Linked DNA regions of Homo sapiens: region 2 is linked to region 1. Evidence: promoter capture Hi-C in human tissues and cell types (Jung and others, 2019). All regions are on one chromosome and are shown on one strand. Each heading gives the region's core, a stretch centred on a gene start or on the middle of the fragment in contact. The rest is flanking DNA. Distances are from core to core; before and after follow the strand shown.

Region 1 (6,108 bases), core at 1,073-3,572:
TGCGGATTTCCCCCATGCTGCTTTCATGATAATGAGTGAGCTCATTAAAATTGTGGCACTTTCATCCTCGCTCTCCCTCTCCTGCCGCCATGTAAGACATGCCTTGCTTCCCCTTTGCCTTCCGCCATGGTTATAAGTTTCCTGAGGCCTCCACAGCCATGTGGAACTGTAAGTCAATTAAATCTCTTTTCTTTTTAAATTACCCAGTCTCATTATTTTGGATCTTTAAGATTTAATGACTGCCCTGTTGGGTTTTAAACTTACATGGTGCCTGTAGCCCTTTTCTTTTGGATGATTTCTCCCTTTTTGGAATGGGAGTATTTACCCATTGCCTATACCCTCATTGTTTCTTGGAAGTAACTAATTTGTTTTTGAGTTTACAGGCTCATAGGTGGAAGAGACTAGCCTTGTCTCAAATGAGATTTTGGACTGAGAACTTTTGAGTTAATGCTGGAATGAGTTAAGATTTTGGGGGATGTTGAGAAGAAATCATTGTATTTTGCAATGTGAGAAGGGCATGAGATTTGGGAGGGGCAGGGGGCAGAATGATATTCTTTGGATTAGTGTCCCCATCCAAATCTCATGTCGAATTGTAATCCCCAGTGCTGGAGGTGGGGCCTGGTGGGAGATGATTAGCTCATGGGGGCAGTTTCTTATGGTTTAACACTGTCCGCCTTGGTGCTGTCATGACAGTGAGTGAGTTCCCATGAGATCTGGTTGTTTAAAAGTGTATAGCACCTCCACTTTCTCTCTCTTCTTCCTGCTCCACCATGATTTCTTGTTTGCCCTTCACCTTCCACCTGCTTCCCCTTCCTCTTCCACCATTATTGTAAGTTTCCTGAGGCCTTCCCTGGAGACCAGTAGATGGCCTGCATCATTCTTCCTGTACAGCCAGAGGAATCATGAGCCAATTAAACTTCTTTTCTTTATAAATTACCCAGTCTCAGGTATTTCTTTATAGAAATGGAAGAATGAACTAATACAGCTAACCTTAAAAAAAAAGTACAGAAGAGTCTTAGTGTTTTATCTTATCTTATTCTCTGAAAGAGAAACTGTTCAGAATTAACTGGTGAAATCATCTAGTCTTAAATTTGCATATTTGTCAAAATGGATTCATGAATTCCACTTCTTTATGACATATAGAAATATTCAGGTTCGTATTTCTTCTTGGGTCCACTTTTTATACATTTAATTTAATCAGATAATATGTATTTGAAGATGGAATAAATTGGCCCGAGCTTTGTTTTATAGCTTTTTTTCTATGCAATTTTTTAAACATACACAAAAGAAGAAAGAATAACTATTACACCAGCCACCATATTCCCATCTCCTAGATAAAGCTATTGTTAATACTTTGATATAATTCCTTCACACTGTTGTTCTCCAATGTTATAATCTATGTGCAAGCTAAAACCTTTTCTTATTATATTGCTCTGAAATTATCAAGATATTCTCCAAGAAATAGTGAATTAAAAGATTAAGCAGAAGTTTATCACCACAGAAGCATCTTTAACCTTTTGGTGTAGAATTCCTGTTTGCCTGGACAAGAAAATATAGATATTGAGAATGTTAAAGATGAGGAGGAGGAAGAAGACAAAGGAGAAGGGGATAAAGAAAAGAAGATAAAGGAGAGGAAAGGGATGGAAAGGGAGGAAGAAGGTTTAAGGGACAGGAAGAATGACGAGGAGGAGGAGGGTGAAGAAATAATCGTGACATATAACGTATTGGTAATTTTTTTATCTATAAGAAGAAAATATCACCATGGTTGATTATATTAATGCATCACAGCACATTTATTGTGATAAAAATTTGAGGCTCAAAACACATTTACCACATGAGAAAAAGTTCATGGTTAGATATCAGATATTGAAAGACAATCTTTCTTAGAGTATAATGGCTCTCCAGCCAATAAAAAAGTGAATATCTGGAGAACATCACTAATCAAATGCCAATATCTAGTTGATCAAGTTTTCTTCACACTATTGTCAAAAGGCAGGTGATCCAAGCAGCTGTTTTGTTATGGAATATGGAATTCCATATGGTTATGGAATAAAGTTTCTTGGAAGAATTGGGAATCTCACAGAAGACTATATTTCAAGTATTTATTCAATAGAATCCAGAAGACCAGTATCCCCCATAGCATGATGGGTGGCAGCAGCTGTATCTGTAGCCTCCATAGCCACAGCCATAGCCCAGTCTGCGGAAGCTGCCACATCCACAGCTATAGCCATAGCCCAGGCCACCGAATCCTCCACAGCCGTAGCCTAGGCCTCCATAGTAGCTGCCGGAGTAGCTCATGTTGTCAGAAGTGGTTAGCTGTTGTAGGTCAGTTTGGTGACTGTGACTGGACAGGAACATTTATATATACTCTGATGCATGTGGAAAGCCACACCTTTAAATGTCATCCCTTAGAACGTGTTACCTGAAAACTATGCCAACTATCTTGTTTTGTAACACCCATCCCACTCTCTTCCTTGTTTATGAAGCTAGTTATTTAGAAATTATACAACATGTTTTATTTTCTGCTTTATTTGGATTTCTAGATAAGTGTTTTGCCTCTAATAAAATGTAGTTGCATTTATATTCACTGTACATGTATGAGTTTCTGAGTTTCAAATGCCATAAACAAATCTCTATAGCTTCAAGTATTCTTCAAATTGCATCTCATGCAATTACATTTATCCTCTGATTGCACTCTTTCCTTTGACAGTCCATGGCTGCTGAGCCTTTTCTAAGCCAAGGATGTTATCTTTATTCTGCCAAGAATTCACAAAAATTGAAACATTATTGTTCTCTGAAATGGCAATCAACTATGATGTATGTCTTTATACAATGTGCTTTTAAAGTCAGCTGGGAACCACATTTTATAGTGGAATGATGATATTTAATTTTTAAAAGAGTCACAAATTAATGTCAAAGGAATTTCTCAAATATTATGCTTCATGTAGAGCCAGCCTGCTTAGTAGATACCATTAAAGTGTGCATAAAGTCCCTGCCAATCCCTTATGAATAGTTTCCTCTCCCCAAATTTAATCTTAGTCTAGATTCTAAATTTCGTACTATCATAGGATCATATAATTATAGAATTAAAGAGACTTGAGTCATCATTTATTTCAGTGTTCTTGTTACTGATGAGAAAAATGGATTCAGAGAGACAAGCAGAGTTACGCAACAGTGAAACTTAGTGGCAGATTAGGACTAAAACCTAAGTACTTTGATTATTGGCCTTAGTTCAGCAGATGCATTTGAAATCAAAGATTGCAGGTTAGGGTATATCTTCTCCCACAATGCCCAGCTGCCTTATATTTTTGTTTCATATCATCAATATAAATAAAAGCAAATGACATGAAACCAGTAAGCATATATGCTCAGCTACTCCTGCTATATATATATATATATGTATATATATATATATACATGTATGTATGTATATATACACTTTAAGTACTGAGGTAAATGTGCAAAACGCGCAGGTTTGTTACATAGGTATACATGTGCCATGGTGGTTTGCTGCACCCATCGACCCATCGTCTATGTTAGGTATTTCTCCTAATGCTGTCCCTCCCCTAGTCCCCCACCCCCTGACAGGCCCTGGTGTGTGATGTTCCCCTCCCTGTGTCCATGTGTTCTCATTGATTAACTCCCACTTATGAGTGAGAACATGTGGTGTTTGCTTTTCTGTTCTTGTGTTAGTTTGCTGAGAATGGTGGTTCCAGCTTCATCCATGTCCCTGCAAAGGACATGAACTCATCCTTTTTTATGGCTGCAGAGTATTCCATGGTATATATGTGCCACATTTTCTTTATCCAGGAACCTCAAAGAATACAGGTTATTTTTGAACTTCATTTATACTGATTAAACTTATTTCCTTTACCAGTTTATTAAAAGTGCTACATAACTAGGTACTTAACATATTTCCATCCTGAGGGAACTTTGCAAACTACAAGTTGAAGGGAATTATTAATGGTAAAGAATTGCTGTATTTGAATTTGCTTCAGTTAAGAAAATGTAGGTTCAATATAATTTTAGGTAATTTTTTAAAAAGACTATTATCTTTAGCACTTGTCACAATCCAGATAAAACCAGATATATTTGCTTGGTAGGGAAAATATTATTATCAGGAATAGAAGATCCCAGAACCTCCAATCTAGGAATTATTTTCTAGGGTCCTCTGCTTTATTTGATTCCTAAAAGTGAAGCTAACACGTATGTGAACTTTGCCTGTCCACGAAGCATCAAGTCATCTGCCTCTTCTCATTCTCAGCTCACACGACCTCCCACTTGGCACTGATAGGACTAGACTGACCCCAGTCACCCTATGACTCACGCTGGTTTCTGTAGAGAAGAAACGCTTTACCGTCTTTTATCTTTCTGAGATACTAGTGCATTCACATTTTAAGATTTTACCAAATATCAATATTAGGAACTTCTCTTATTCTTAAAACAATTCTTTATTTTTTTCTTTAATGAGCATGTATTTTACAAAATATATTCACATAAAAGTCAACATTATTATTCTGTGGTTGTGAAACTACTGTGGAACAATCAAACCATCAAACGGAAACTTCATGAGGTAAGGAAAAAGACCCAATTCCCTCGTCATGTCTTTTAACTCAATAGACTGTGGACATCAGACACTTTAATGAGGTCATGATACGTAGACTTTTCTTTCCTCATTATTGTACCCCCAATAATTGCAAAATGAGTGAAATAACCATCTAAAACCATCTAAAAGCTAGCACAGAGTATTTTCACTGGCAATCCAGAAAAAAACACATTTTTATGGATGATTCTTCCTGGAGAGTACACATGTAAATGATACATTAATTGGCAAAAAGCCAAATAAGATGATAGATTTTTTGTCTACACAATTTGTACTTTTATTTTAAAAGTAAACAAAGATAACAGATAATACTTACTGAGAGATTCATATGGGCCAGGCAGCCCATATGAACACATATGACACCTTCCATATGTGTTATATTTAGTATAACGTATATTCAAGAGGTGTGTAGTAAAATTGTCTATCAAGGTGTTTGTTTAGTATACTAATATCTAAAATATACCTCTCCTTATGTTAATTAATTGCTCCTTGTATTCTCTTGACCAGTTTCCTAAATAGTTGCTAGTAATATTAAAGGTTCAAAAAAAGACACTGAAAAGTATTTATCTTGCTGGGTGCGGTGGCTCACGTCTGTAATCCCAGCACTTTGGGAGGCCGAGGCGGGTAGATCACCTGAGGTCAGGAGTTAGAGACCAGACTGGCCAACATCGCGAAACCCCGTCTCTACTTAAAAAAAGTAGAAAAATTAGCCAGGCCTGGTGGCACCCACCTGTAATCCCAGCTACTTGGGAGGCTGAGGCAGGAGAATAGCTTGAACCTGGGAGGCGGAGGCTGCAGTGAGCCAAGATCATGCCACTGCACTCCAGCCTGGGCGACAAGAGCGAAAAAAAAAAAGTATTTATCTGATATTGCAAAGATTGTGTGAAATATGGATTAAACAATGAGAAGAGTCGATGCTGTTTTAAGCTCTAGAGATGATAAGATGTGTAAAAATTATGAACAATGCCACATTGTTATAGAAAAATACCTGACAAAATGGTCCAAGAGCTGCTTCATAGTTTCACATTGTTTCTTTATTGCCATATACAATATCCAATAACATGTTTATTTTTGTGAATAAAATATGTTTCTATCCTTATCTAATCATTGCTGATGATTCAGGGTACGGTAGGGAAGCTCTGTTTACCCAAGAAAGAATCAGAGTCTTTATAAAATGGAATTATTAAAGCCAAACACATTAAATTTCTATAAAGATTTTGTAAATATCTAATATCTAATCTGCAGATAATTTTCTTGACACAATTCCAATTTTGATAATAATTGAAAAGGATAAAGACATGTCTTTTTATTACTAAATAGCTCTGTAAACATTTTGCTATAGGAAAATTAAATCATATTTTTATTCTTATATTGTGTAAGCTGATCGCTTCAGTTTAAGAGTCCTGTTAAATGTTTATATTCTTACTCTCACAGGTCTTACCATCACTGTGAAAATCATGCATATAATTTGCTAATGAATACTGAAATAAGGGCAAAAATTTCCA
Region 2 (6,058 bases), core at 2,607-5,106, 86 kb before region 1:
TGTGATAAGAGATGAAAAAACATAAAATAAGAAAGAAGAATTGGTGATGCAGACAGTGTGCCATCTTTGAGAAAAATATAAATGTCAAGGTTAAGGGGAATTAGTAGCCAATAAGTGAGGAGAGGGACATAAATGGATAATTATTTTCACAAAAGTTTAATTTTGCAGCACTTGGTGGATCAAAATGCTGGAAAGGGGTTTGTAGAGAAGCAAAAAGGGTGCATGTGTGGGAAGAAGAATCTATTGGTTAGAATAAGTTTAAGCTCAGCTGTCTATGGAGACATGCATTTGGAAACATTCTTCTGGTAGATAAATATCAGAAGAAAGACCGGTTTGGGAGAGATGCCATATATGGCAAATAAAAATACAGGGTGCCCAGTTAAACTTGAGTTCTGAATAAATAATATTTTGTTTAGCATAAGCACGCTCTATATAATATTTTAGACATACCAAAAATGTTTCTATTACTTATCTGAAATTCTAACTTCATAATTTGTTCATTATTGTGTCTGGCATTCCTATAGACTGGGAATGTAGATTCGAGCACCACAACTTGCAGAGAAGTTGTCAACTACTGCTTAGAGTAAAGGAGGTTAGCTTTAAATAAACAAAGGCTAGACAGTGGGTTCTCTGGTAGAATACAAAGCTTTATCTTTTCCCTCTCATCTACTCTCTTTGCGTTATAACTTTGAAATGTTCTTTCACTCTGATTCCTGGCACAGTCATATAACATGGTGTTACCAGCCAAAAGGCAGAATTGATGATGTTCTGGTTCTGAGCATGAAAGTTCTTGCAAGAATCTAGTTTGCTCTCATACTCTTGCCATCTTCATGAGAACACAGTAAGTAGATCTAGCCTAATTTTAGAGTGAGAGATTGATGGAGCAAAGCCAATTCCCACTTTTACCCCAGTCAACAGTAAGTCAAACCCCAGTCATGTGAGCAAACAGCAAGGCTATCTTACTTCCCCCAGCCGTTGGATGGTTGAGCATGAACCATCTTATTATACAGCTTATCGTTGTATGTAACACAGCAGTATGATGGCAATAGAAAATGGAAACAAAGTCAATTATAATAGTGTCAAAATAAAAGTAGCAATAACTAATATATATTGATTGCAGACTATATGACAAGCTATGCTTTGAGGTTTTGTATGCGTTACTCATTTAATCCTCACAAGGATCCTATGAAATTGTTGCTATTGTTACCCCAGTTTTACAGATGAGAACGCTGAAATCCAATGGGTTTAAGTAACTTTTCCAAGGTCACCTTGGAAAGTAACAGAGCTGACAGTCTGACTTAGGTGAATTTGCCTTCAGAAAGTTCATGCCTAACCACCTAGTGACACTGCATCTCAACAAAACTTTGAGGATGACACTGGATTTGCCAATAAAGAAGTTGTTTGGAACATTTACTGCATTAGCTTCAACTAGGTGACAGACTATTGGAGGAGGATGGAAGACTGCACTAGAAATGAGGTACAGAGGAAGAGAGAGAATGCAGAGGGGGTGCAAGTATTCCTTTAGGTCATTCAGTGACATGAAGAAAAGGGGAAGAGATGACAGTCAACTTAAAGATAGACCAAGAGGACACTGAGGTTTTAACCTTGGTTTCTTTGGTTGTGTTTTTCATAGGACTTTGTGTATGTCTGAAGATAGTATATTGCACTCAGACTTCCTGGGTTGAAAACCCAGCTTTGCCTTGTATAAACATCCAACTTTAGGAATTTTTTAGCCTCTCTGAGCTTTACTTTTTTAGCATACAAATACCTCAAAGAGTTTCTAAAAGACTGAAGCACAGTATCCCAGAATATAGATGGTGGTTCCAGGTAGGTCAATTTCAGGTGTCTTCCTACAAGGGGAAACTCCAAATAGAAGGATAGGTAATAGTGAATAAAACAATAAGCCACAAGATAAGAAAGAGAAAAAAAGGAAAAATGAATGCCTCAAGTCTTACAGGGGAGAAGGAAAACTTCTTTCTCAGAGACAGTTGAGAACAAAAAATGGGTGAACATAAATCTGCAAAGTGAGAGAGGGAGATCAAGGTATATCTCTCCTGATGATACCATAGAAGAATTTTGACTGGCACCTCTACTTCTTAAATGTGACCAGTGACATCCTATGATTAAAACATTGGACCTTCTTTAGGGGCATTTGCCTCGCCTTCACTGCTCAGGTGCACAAACTTATGCTTAGAGTCAAAATACTTTTTAATTTATCACAGGTTATAATACCTCACAACTCACTATTGCATGGTTTGTGGAAGTTATTTAAATTTTCCAAAGTGCAATTTCCTCACCTATTCCACAGGAATAACAAAATCATATACCTTATAATGTGTGAAGTTTATGTGTGACATGTCATGAAAGGCAGAAAATAAATATGAACCATCTTTACTAGCTATATTGCAGTTGCAGTTGGCTTACGTTTATGCCTGTAAACTTAAAAGAGCGTCCAGCACATTGCAGAAGTTAATGTCTACCTATGGAAAAGATAAATAAAACATGATATTAATTTAGCATAAAAGTAGAGCTTTTCTACATTTTCATCAATAAAATCATATTATTATAAGAAAAGGACACAGGATTCAATGAGGATACTGGCATATAAATTAATAACCAATGGTTTGGCACTATGATAGATTTATTTGGCACATATTTTATGAAATACTTTCTGTAAGCCAGGCATTATTCTAGGCCCTGTGGATGCACAGATGAGTAAAAGAGATTAAATTTCTGCCCATATGTCGCTTCCATGTCCTGGGGAGATACAAAATATGTGAGTCAACTAGCAAGTGTATAGCATCTCTTGGTGATAAGTGCTATGAAGAAAAGGCTATATAAACGACCACAGGCCAATAGCATCTCAGGGAAGACCTCTATGCAAAAGCGACATTTGTGCATGATGCTGTCAAGTGACTGCTGGAATCTGGAAGGCATCTCAAGAGAAGATACTTAAATTTTTTAAATTTTTATTTTACTTTAAGTTCTGAATACATGTGCAGAACGTGCAGGTTTGTTACATAGGTATACATGTGCCATGGTGGTTTGCTGCACCCATCAACACAACATCTCAGTTTCAAGCCCTGCATGCATTAGGTATTTGTCCTAATGCTCTCCCTCCCCTTGCTTCCCACCCCCTGACAGGCCCCTGTGTGTGACGTTCCCTTCCCTGTGTCCATGTGTTCTCATTGTTCAGCTCCCAATTATGAGTGAGAACATGCTGTGTTTGGTTTTCTGTTTCTGTGTTAGTTTGCTGAGAATGATGGCTTCCAGCTTCATTCATGTCCCTTAAAAGGACATATCTCATTCTTTTTTATAGCTTTGTAGTATTCCATGGTGTATATGTGCCACATTTTCTTTATCCAGTCAATTCTTGATGGGCATTTGGGTTGGTTCCAAGTCTTTGCTATTGTAAATAGTGTGGAAATAAACCTACATGAGCATGTGTCTTTATAGTAGAATTATTTATAATCCTTTGGGTATATGGGAGAAAATGTTTGCAATCTACCCATCTGACAAAGGTCTAATATCAAGAATCTACAAGGAACTTAAACAAATTTACAAGAAAAAAACCAAACAACCCCATCAAAAGGCATGCAAATTATATAAACAGACGCTTCTCAAAAGAAGACATTTATGCAGCCAACAAACATATGAAAAAAAGCTCATCATCACTGGTCATCAGAGAAATGCAAATCAAAACCACAGTGAGATATCATCTCACACCAGTCATAATGGTGATTATTAAAAAGTCAGGAAACAACAGATGCTGGCGAGGGTGTGGAGAAATAGGAATTTTACACTGTTGGTGGGAGTGTAAATTAGTTCAACCACTGTGGAAGACAGTGTGGCGATTCCTCAAGGATCTAGAACCAGAAATACCATTTGACCCAGAAATCCCTTAAGTTAAATTTTGAAGATGAGTAGGAACTCTTTTTGAGAAGTGAAGAGCAGCGCATGCAAGGTAAAGGAGGAGCTAGTATAAAGGCAGATATTTAACAAGATTATGGATCATTTAGGTAAATACACATATTAATTCAGTCGGTGTTTGCTGAGTGTAATATCATACCTGATGAGCCAACTGCATGGTCCAGGCTCTTCTGTAACTTGCCTTTTAATAAAATTTCCTTCCATATCAGCATATTGAGCGCTTCATTGTTTTCATCATAATAGCAGCATTATGTGTCATTCCAGGGAGAGATATAAGGAGTCATTTTGAACAAATAACTTTTAACAAAGGGACTAAAGAAAGGTGGCAGGTTTTGAGTTTTGGAGATCAGATAGGAATAGATGAAAAGGTGCAGCCATAGTCCAAGTGGCAAATTATGACCATCAGCATTAGATAAAAGGTAAAATGAAATTGAATATATTTATAAAGAATTATATATTTTATGTATCTGTTAAGAAGATAGCACAAAATAGCTACCAATTGGCTATGGAGATGACAGAGGAGACATGTGAAGCTTCTCCATATTCTGACTTGAGTGGCTGTAGCGATCACAAATTGGTTGTCCTTGTCAACCAATTAAACAATAGAATCCACATGGTCTCTACAACCCATAGTAAGGTGCTTGGCAGAAACATAACTAAATATATAACAATATTAAGCCTTAGAATCTCCAAGTTAGTAGCTCAAACCATAGATGGATTCATAGCTGCAACCTAGTCCTCTAAACTTCAGAGGCCAGCAGTGATGTCTGTCAAACATATTTCCAATAAAAGGGAATACTTTTATTCAGATTACCAAATTGCTCAGGTATCCTGAATTTTTATTCTATACACATATCCAATACAATATTGATTCAATTGATCTTTCATAGTAATAGAGCATTTTTAATTGATTAAAGAGTTTTTATATTGATTTGCATTATTAGAGGTTTCTGTGACCAATCTGAGTGCAGTAGTAAGATGTGACCATGATTATTATGTCTGAAAAAACTTTTTCGGTGGAAGAAAGAAATTTTACTTTTTGTATCCATGTTTCAAGAAATTATTCATTCTCCAATTTTATCCTTTAACATTAATCTTGGATCCTAAATTATGCAATCACTATGCACAAGCATGACTAGGTACACATGACACTATTATACCTTCCTCAAAATTAGAATTTATAGTTTTCATCAGGAAATTCCCCCTCTACTTGCATTCATAAGAATTGTATGTTCTGTAGTATATTTTAAATTTTGAAGGTGAGTTCTACAGTATATCTTACTGATATACTGTAATAGAAATCAACAGAAATTCAGTTCTCCCAGCAGAACTACTTACTGACTGCAATTTAGAAATATCTTTCACGTTCCCAGCTTCCAATTCTTTAACAATCTAACCAAGAATAAAAACATCTTTTGCAATATACTTTTAAAAGCCATGACATTCAGGAGCATCACAAATTATATTTGGGAACAAATCAAATTTAACAGCACCTGGACAGTTTAGATCGGAAATCAAAAAGACCTTCAAGTAAGGCCAGCACTTAAACCTAATGAGGATGATTTTTGTTGTTTTTGCTTCCCTTTTTTGGTTTTCTAATTTGAAATAGAAAGTGTGGTGTAGTAAAAAGGTAACAGATATTCTATCTTCAAGGTCATCTTTAGTAGGATATAATGTCTGTCTGGAGAAAATTAGGTTGACTAGTCACATACTGTACATTCTAAATAATTGTTCTCTAAAAGCACCCACCATTTTTTATATGTTTATAAAGGGAAGCTTTATATATGCTTACAACCCTCATAGAGCAAATATAAATATGCAGACTAATTCACACATTGTTAAATTTTAGAGTTGACAAAGGACAATAAAAAAATCAAAGATCGAAATCATACAGAATAGTAACTACAGTTCCTATAATCTACAGGGGCTACGGGCTATTCTCCTGTAGATTTTTTGTTGTTGTTGTTAGAACATAAAATAATTAGCTAAAGCTAAAAATTAGCTTAATTAAATAATTAATTAACTCTTCTATTTTGTCCAAGGAATTTAGAACTTACTAAAACTTAGATTGCAAAACCTCACTAGCAAAATTAAGCATTTGCCAAGGGTAGCTGCTGAAGGGTCTTTA

The links. Contacts are between HindIII fragments. The study calls those that stand out against the background at their distance.
Region 2: a contact is called between a fragment that was not itself captured here and the fragment with the promoter of KRTAP19-7 in region 1, in 3 of the 25 tissues and cell types used here (aorta, hippocampus and liver).

The regions. Positions count from the first base shown.
Region 1 is chr21:30,558,992-30,565,099 of GRCh38, forward strand. KRTAP19-7 (keratin associated protein 19-7) reads right to left here and starts at 2,323. Exons shown (of 1, transcript NM_181614.3): 1 at 1,884-2,323. The coding sequence starts at 2,298. The coding sequence ends at 2,107. The HindIII fragment of the contact is 12,696 bases long and covers 1-6,108 here.
Region 2 is chr21:30,471,596-30,477,653 of GRCh38, forward strand. It overlaps LOC105372772 (a long non-coding RNA gene), which reads right to left and starts at 4,113. Exons shown (of 4, transcript XR_937653.3): 1 at 4,070-4,113; 2 at 2,425-2,480; 3 at 1,769-1,863. The HindIII fragment of the contact is 7,745 bases long and covers 1-6,058 here.